Linked DNA regions of Homo sapiens: region 1 is linked to region 2. Evidence: promoter capture Hi-C in 16 types of primary human blood cells and fetal thymus (Javierre and others, 2016). All regions are on one chromosome and are shown on one strand. Each heading gives the region's core, a stretch centred on a gene start or on the middle of the fragment in contact. The rest is flanking DNA. Distances are from core to core; before and after follow the strand shown.

Region 1 (3,706 bases), core at 910-3,409, 650 kb after region 2:
AAAAATCTGCAAAGCAGAAACTGCAGGAATTGTGTCTTTTCTCCAAAGAGAACATACTCTGCCAAGGCCTTTCGCAGAATCCATTTTGCAGCTGTAGTCTGGGAATTGTACAACTCTTCCTAGGTTCGTATTGGAAAAAGAGTAGCTTCTGGGCTGAATGCTATCAGGAAAGCTGTCCCCAGTATTCAAAAGCTCTTTCCTTTATGGCTGTTTCTTATCTTTTCCTATCAATTGTCCATAGTTACTGATCTCATAGGACAAAATGTCTCTGTCTTATAGCTGAAATGTGAATACCTAAATCATGGAGGTTAGCACACCCAGTTACATTACTATTCCCTACACAAAATCAGGGCATTTCACATCCAGGCATTCCTACCCATGTTCATTGTTTCCTACAAAGTATCATCTTCACAAAGGAGCACTCACTCAACTTACCTTGTAGTGGAAGAGAAACAATCCACAGAACAGGCTGTACAAGTCTGCTGTGAGCAAGGAGAGGTTGACTGAAGTGGCACTGGTTTTCTTTATGACGACTGGCATAAAGCTGTAGAGACCAAACATGCAGGCACTAAAGCCAACGTAGAGCAGTCCTGGGGGAAGAGTAAAGAGAAGGCAGCGTCAGGGCCTCCTCCAGGGCATCTTCAGCATCCACAGCAGGAAAGAAGGGGAAGAGTGCACACCACTTGTCACTCACACAAGGCAGTTTCTCTTTTCCCCTATTCACTGATGTTTATTATTGGATAACACAGTACAAAAATTAAACTAGATTAAAAAAAATTAAGTGTGAAAAATGAACTTTCTGCTTCTTATTGCATTGCTGACATTTTGCTTCTTCTGGGAAGGAGTGCCTCTTAGTGGCGATAGTCAGAACACAGAATCAAGGTTTTTGAATTCTCCCAATTGTGCTGTAATCAGCTTTTGCTACTCATCTATTTTGAAACTTTTTTTTACCTCTTAGTTTTTAATTTGAGTAATAGCAACAAAACTGCTTGCTATCATGTATTGCCCACAATGATGAATAACTACGTAGTCTTTAAAGTTGAAGAGCTTGCATGTCAAAGAGACCTGGACTTAGAATACTGAATTAGAATCTTGACTGTGTGGCCTTGGGTGGACGAATTCATTGCTGGGAATACATGATGATCTGTCAGTCTCCTCCAGATTTCTGAATTCTGTTCTGCTCTACCCAAAACACACAGAATCCTGCCCTTCCATCACATGTCCTGGCATACTGTGAACTCTCACATGTGGGCTTTCATGACCTTAAAATACTATGTGGCCAATCTCTCATCCTCAAATCTCTCTCTTTCTCTGTAATTATGCCTAGACATGGGTACTCTGTTTTGCAGGGTCCCAAGCAGGAGTTTACAGCTAAATCTATACTTTCCCCAAATGTTGATACAATGCAAATGTAAAAAAAAAATAATGCTCTTTTCTCCACCTTGAAAGAATAAGGCATAGGATAAGCATAAGTGCTAAAATTCAGTGTCTGCCTTGGTATTACAACATAATAAAAATAACCTTTCCAAAGGAATCCTTGATTAAATGTATCTGGTGTGGGCTGTGGGCAGATTTGCTTCCTCTGACTTAGGGATTTTGGGGAGTTTGGTAGGTACCGAATATCTGGTCTTTCTGACTATGAAGACCAGGGATTCATCCAAAGATAAATTGGGTTTACCCATATGAAAAGTGCTTAAGGGCACAAATCATCGTTCCATATGAAAGCCACATCAGATCTACAAAAAAATTATTCTGAACATAAGTAAGTAAACTCAGTACAACAGCCCCCTCTAGCGTGGTAGAAGTGCCCTCAGAGGAAGGGGGAACAACCACTTTCCTATTTCGGAAAGGTAAAAGTCCTACGTGTAGATTCTATCGCAGTAATATTAGTTTGGTTTTTAATTCTCTATCAGAAGCTTGAATTCTCTAAAAACGGACCGTTTTTCTGCATGTGGGTTTCATGCTCCCTGTAGTGCATTTTCCTTTTAACCAAACTACTAAAAATGCAATAAGTATTACATAACTTATGACTAATACATGAAAAGACATAAAAATTAATTTGGTACTCCTTAAAGAAATCTGTGATTAACAGACTAGGGACAAGATCAATCCTCAAATTAATCCACTAAAAATAATAAAACTTGATCGGAACACAATCTAGGCACCAGAGCCTTGTTTCCGTTTTTCTTTTGTTTTTTGAAGGTGTCACTGATTTAAATACCATGACTGGGTTAGAAAGTTCCAGAATAATACCCTTCCATCATTTTGCGTGGACTTTGACTTGTGGGCTCTGTTGGTATATTCACTCATTTATTCAACTATTATTCTCTGAGTACTAACCATGCCCTGAGCACTCTGCTGTGGGCTAGGAACAATGAAAAACAGGATAGACAAGAAGCTTAGAGTTGCTATTAATGCTATGCAGAAAGACAAGTGTTTCTTAAAGAGAATGTCAGGAGCTTGCTTTAGACAGGGTGGTGAGGTAGGGCTACTTTGTGGAGGTGGCATTTACCTCGAGTGCTGAAGGACCAAAAGGAGATTGCCAGGAGAGGAGCCAAGGAAACCTGCACATGAAAAGTTCCTGAAAGGGACAGGGCCTCAAGTGTCCCAGATGCTGACCAAGGCCACAATGGCTGAGCAGAATGAAGAGAACGGGCAGAGGAAGCTGGAAAATTGGGAAGGGAATGGATTATGCCAGACCTTGCAGGTCTCAGAAAGGAATGTGTATCTTATTCTAGTTGTACGAGGAAGCCATTGAGGAGTTTGCGGCAGCTGACTAAAAGAATCTGATCTACATTTTCAAAAGGTGATTTTGGCTACTCTGTGGAGAAGGGATTGGAAGGAGAAAAGCATGGGACCAGTTACAGAGACCAGTTAGAATGGCGGTGTCACAATCCCGGCAAGAGAGGCTGGTAGCTTGCTTGGTTTTGCTCGAAACGGCAGTGGAGAAGGGAAGTGGTCTGTGAAGACTCAAGAAGCCCTGGTGATAGACTGATGTAGGTGGTGAGGGAAAGGAGAGCATGGAGGATGCCCAGGGGTTCTGGCTAATTTAGAAACTAGGTGAACTGTGACGCCATATACTGAGATGGAGGGAGCTAAAAGAGGACCAGATTTTCAGGAGAAATAAAATGCTCCATTTTGAATGTGTTGTTTTCGACGCTTATGCATTATCCAAAAGGATCTGTCCAGTAGGGAGCTGGATATATAATTGGAGGACTCAGAGAAGTGGTGAGATTTTACAAGCCCAGTTGGTGAGCAAAGGAGAGTAGGGAAATAAATACATGGCACTTTGCTAACCAGGCTACCTTATGATGCTTCCAGCTAAAATATTCTCAACCTATTTTTAAATGTTGCAGAAATTAGAGGTAGGGGGACAGGAGTGGAATATATACACTATCACAATTGACAACTAGGTCAACCGATGTTTTTGCATGTGAATATACTGTTTCCCAAGCAAAGCATAGCCAGCCTAGTTAACACATGATTAAATTGAGAGTTGGAATGCAGTATCGTTGCCCTTCCTTGGCTGTTCTTAGATGGACATTAGATAGTTAATGGACATTAACAATGCCTCTGAAAGTCCAACTTGCTGTCCAGGTAGGGTTTTCAATTGATCAGCATGATCATACAAATGAACTGAATTACTTTTTGACTGACAACTACAAAATGGCTGCAGTAACTACATTTATAACAGAGTATGTGTATA
Region 2 (3,781 bases), core at 354-2,853:
TCTCATCTTAAAATCTGATCCCAAGTGTGGGGCCTAGTTGGGGGTGTCTGGGTCACAGGGGCAGATCCTTCAGGAAAACTTAGTGCTGCCATTGCATAATGAGTTCTCATTCTGTTAGTTGCCTCCAGAGCTGATTGTTAAAAAGAGCCTGACCACTACCTCCCCTTTCTCTTGCTTCTCTTCTGGCCATGTGATCTGCACAGGCAGCCTCCCCTTCACTGAGTGGAAGCAGCCTGAAGCCCTCACCAGAAGCAGCCTGCAGAAGTGTGAGCCAAATAAACCTCTTTTATTTGTAAATTATTCAGTCTCAGGCATTCCTTTTTAGCAACACAGACTAAGACACTATCAAAGAACAACTGAAAATTTAAAATGTCATTTACATAATATCAAGAAGTATATTTTTCCCCCATCCTTAGATTTATGGATAAATCTGACATAGGGTGATATGGTTTGGCTGTGTCCCTGCCCAAACCTCATCTTGAACTGTAGTTACCATAATCCCCAGGTGTTGTGGGAGGGACCCGGTGGGAGGTAACTGAATCATGGGGGTGGTTATTCCCATGCTGTTCTCTGATAGTGAGTGAGGTATCACAAGATCTGATGGTTTTCTAAGGGGCTTTTCCCTCCTTGCTCCTCACTTCTCCTTCCTGCAGCCCTGTGAAGAAGGAGGTTTGCTCCCGCTTCTGCCATGATTTTAAGTTTCCTGAAGTCTCCCCAGCCATGCTGAACTGTAAGTCAATTAAACGTCTTTCCTTTATAAATTACTCAGTCCCAGGTATGTCTTTATTAGCACTGTGAAAATGGACTATATAAGACTAGACCTGACAAAAGATCAAAACATTTGCTGAGTGAAATAACACCTAAATAAATGAAGAGGCTTACTTTAAGGGTCATTACTAAATATTGTTAACATGTAAATTATTCTTACATGGATCTATAGACGAAATGTAACCAATCACAATCCCAACTTTTTAAAGTGACAAGCTGATTTTAACATTCATATGAAAACCCAAGGGACTAGATGAGCCAGAACATTTTTGAAAAATAACAAAAAATTGGAGGCCAAACACGATCTGATTTTAAGACTCTTACGAATCTACAGGAATCAAGACAATGTGGTATTTTTGTAGAGAGAAATATAATAAATTGTCGGAACAGAATAGAAAGTCTAAGAATAGACCCACAACTGATGCTTTAGGGACAACTGATTTTAAACATAGGTGCAAAAGCTATTCAGTGAGAAAAAGAAAGCTCTCTAAACAAATGACACTATTCACATACAAAAAAATGACCTAAGATCCATACTTTGCACCACAGACAAAAATTAGCTCTAATTGGATCACAGACCTCAATATAAAACCTAAAATTCTAAAACTTGTGTCAGAAAACACAGAAGAGATCCTCTGTGGCCTTGGGTTAGGCAAATTCCTTGGACAGACAAAAAACAAACCCTAAGATCCGATCTGAGCCGCCGCACAACCCTGCTCTGGCCACTTAGCCTGAGGTCACTGCTCGGGTCCCGCCCCTCTCCCCGCCCGGGACCCTCCTGGCTCCGCCCCAATCCGCCCGCTCCGCTCCACCCCGCCCCGCTGCCTCGTCTCCATCCGGAAGAGCCGCCGGGGCAGGGAAGTTGAGGCGGTGCGCGGCCCGGCGTCGGTCGAGAGCGCAGGCCCGGCAGAGCCGCAGGCGCTAGGCCGCCCGACACAGCCCGCGCGTCCCCGCGGCCGGTGGCGCCTCGAGCGGCCACGTGCACGCGCGCACTCCGCCTCACCAGCCTTCTTGCGCCGGAGACGAACCCGCTGCCTGGCTGGAGCTCTCTGGGCCCTTCGGCCTCGGGAGCAACGCGTTCCCGGCGACTTCTGACACAGCCAGTAAGTGATAGCCGCCTCCTCCTTTCGCGGTTATGTTTTTCTCCAGTTCGTCCCAAGTCTCGTTCCCGTCTCATTACTTCAAAAACTATTCAACTCCGGGACCGGACAGGCACGGGAGCTGCCCGGGAGAAGAGCCCCAGAAGTCTCAGAGACTGCCAAGGTGTTGTGGGGCAGGGGCTGCGTGCAAAGACCCTGTGAATTAGAAAGTTTGGAAAGCATGCCTCCAAAACCGAGCGACTCCACGTTTGCCAGGCGCCCCTGGGGCAGCCGAGCGGCCCGGAGGCGCGAAATGGCGCGCCCCCGCAGTGAGAGGGGCGGAGGGAGTGGGGCGGGGCCGAGGGCGCGCGTCCCGCCAGCCCGCGCGGAGGGGGCGGGGCTCCCGGCAGGTGCAGGCGGGCGGGGCGGGGCTGCCGCGATTCCCGGAGACAGCTGGGGGATGCCAGTGCAGTTAGGCACTCTCCTGTCTTCTTTTCGACGCTTCGCTGTGGTCAAGAGGACAAAGTAAAGCAAATGATTTTATTTTGACCCCAAATATTCAATAAGAAAAGGAAAGAGAACTTGAAAGTTGTGAAATGACCCTTCTCAAAACAAAAAGTCCCTCCAGTGTCTATCTGGGTGGGTAGTAGGTACGTTTATTGATTTAGCAAACTGCTGATAACACAGTTGATTAGTCAGTTTTGCATAGATGTTGAAAGGGAATGAATAACGATGGTCCATATAACCATAGAAATGCTAGCCTAACTAGGCAAAATTTAATCTGACCTTAATTTGAACGTTGAATTCTGCTGCTGCCCTTTTCCTGCCTTGTGTGGAGCTGTTTTTCAAATTGCTAAATTTGTGGCTCTAAACTTAATATGCTTTAATAGAATCATAGTGATTCTCTTGTAGCCACTGTTGGGAGTCCAGATTTTTTTTTTTTTTTTTTTGGGCAAAGTCCACATTGTGGAGATATTCCTTCCCAAGTGCTTTTTCTGCTTTACACTTGGCTGAATTTATATTGCTTAACCAAAAACAAATTACCGTGGAGGCCGTAATTTATTTCCACTCATTGTTTTGGATATACATTTACTCATTCTTACTCTCACTCTGGCCTCCTATAGTGGTCAGGATTCTTGACCTAACTGCTATATGTACTTCTTAAACGTTTCACACCTTGCGGAATAGTAGGTTCTCAGAGAAAGCAAAATATAGCAAATAGCGTGTATAACACGTACTTAGGATGATAAACTGTGAACTTTATAGCAGTCTCCTTTAATATTCGTATTTGTAGAGTCCAGTACAATAAATGTTGGACAAATGAAGTAAGTCAAATTTAAGTACACCTCTTCTCCAGTCCTCAATCTCTTTCCAAACGAAATAAGTGTTTCTCTCTTTTTTTTTTTTTTTGAGGCGGAGTCTCGCTCTGTGCCCGGGCTGGAGTGCAGTGGCGTGGTCTCGGCTCACTGCAAGCTCCGCCTCCCGGGTTCACGCCATTCTCCTGCCTCAGCCTCCTGAGTAGCTGGGACTTCAGGCACCTGCCACCACGCCCAGCTAATTTTTTTTGTATTTTTTTTTAGTAGAGAACGGGATTTCACCGTGTTAGCCAGGATGGTCTCGATCTCCTGACCTCGTGATCCACCTGCCTCGGCCTCCCAAAGTGCTGGGATTACAGGCGTGAGCCACTGCGCCCGGCCCCAAATAAGTGTTTCTTATTTGGACAGCTGGTTTCTAACTGTCCAGTGCTACTTCTGAGATCGTCACCTCATTTAAATTTAACCTCCCTCTCCTTTGACTCCTATTCATATTGCATTTTTGACCACTGGTAGTGCACTGTTTCGTTTTATTTGCCCCTTGGATTTCTGAGGACATAGAGAACCTTTTACTATACTTTTCATTTGCCAGCATAGTGCCTTGTACATGATAGATATTAG

What was found. The method cuts DNA at HindIII sites, captures the fragments that hold promoters and counts their contacts. A CHiCAGO score of 5 or more calls a contact.
Region 1: a fragment that was not itself captured here is called in contact with the fragment with the promoter of MCM9 in region 2 in 1 of 17 cell types (total CD8 T cells); the score reaches 5.2 in total CD8 T cells.

The regions. Positions count from the first base shown.
Region 1 is chr6:118,282,068-118,285,773 of GRCh38, reverse strand. SLC35F1 (solute carrier family 35 member F1) reads right to left here. Exons shown (of 8, transcript NM_001029858.4): 7 at 436-590. Among named protein-coding and RNA genes, the nearest start is that of PLN, 260 kb to the left of the region's middle. The HindIII fragment of the contact is 482 bases long and covers 1,919-2,400 here.
Region 2 is chr6:118,932,981-118,936,761 of GRCh38, reverse strand. MCM9 (minichromosome maintenance 9 homologous recombination repair factor) reads left to right here and starts at 1,603. Exons shown (of 14, transcript NM_017696.3): 1 at 1,603-1,871. LOC124901389 (a long non-coding RNA gene) reads right to left here and starts at 1,847. Exons shown (of 2, transcript XR_007059729.1): 1 at 1,772-1,847. RefSeq lists silencers at 1,425-1,854, 2,105-2,354. The HindIII fragment of the contact is 20,540 bases long and covers 1-3,781 here.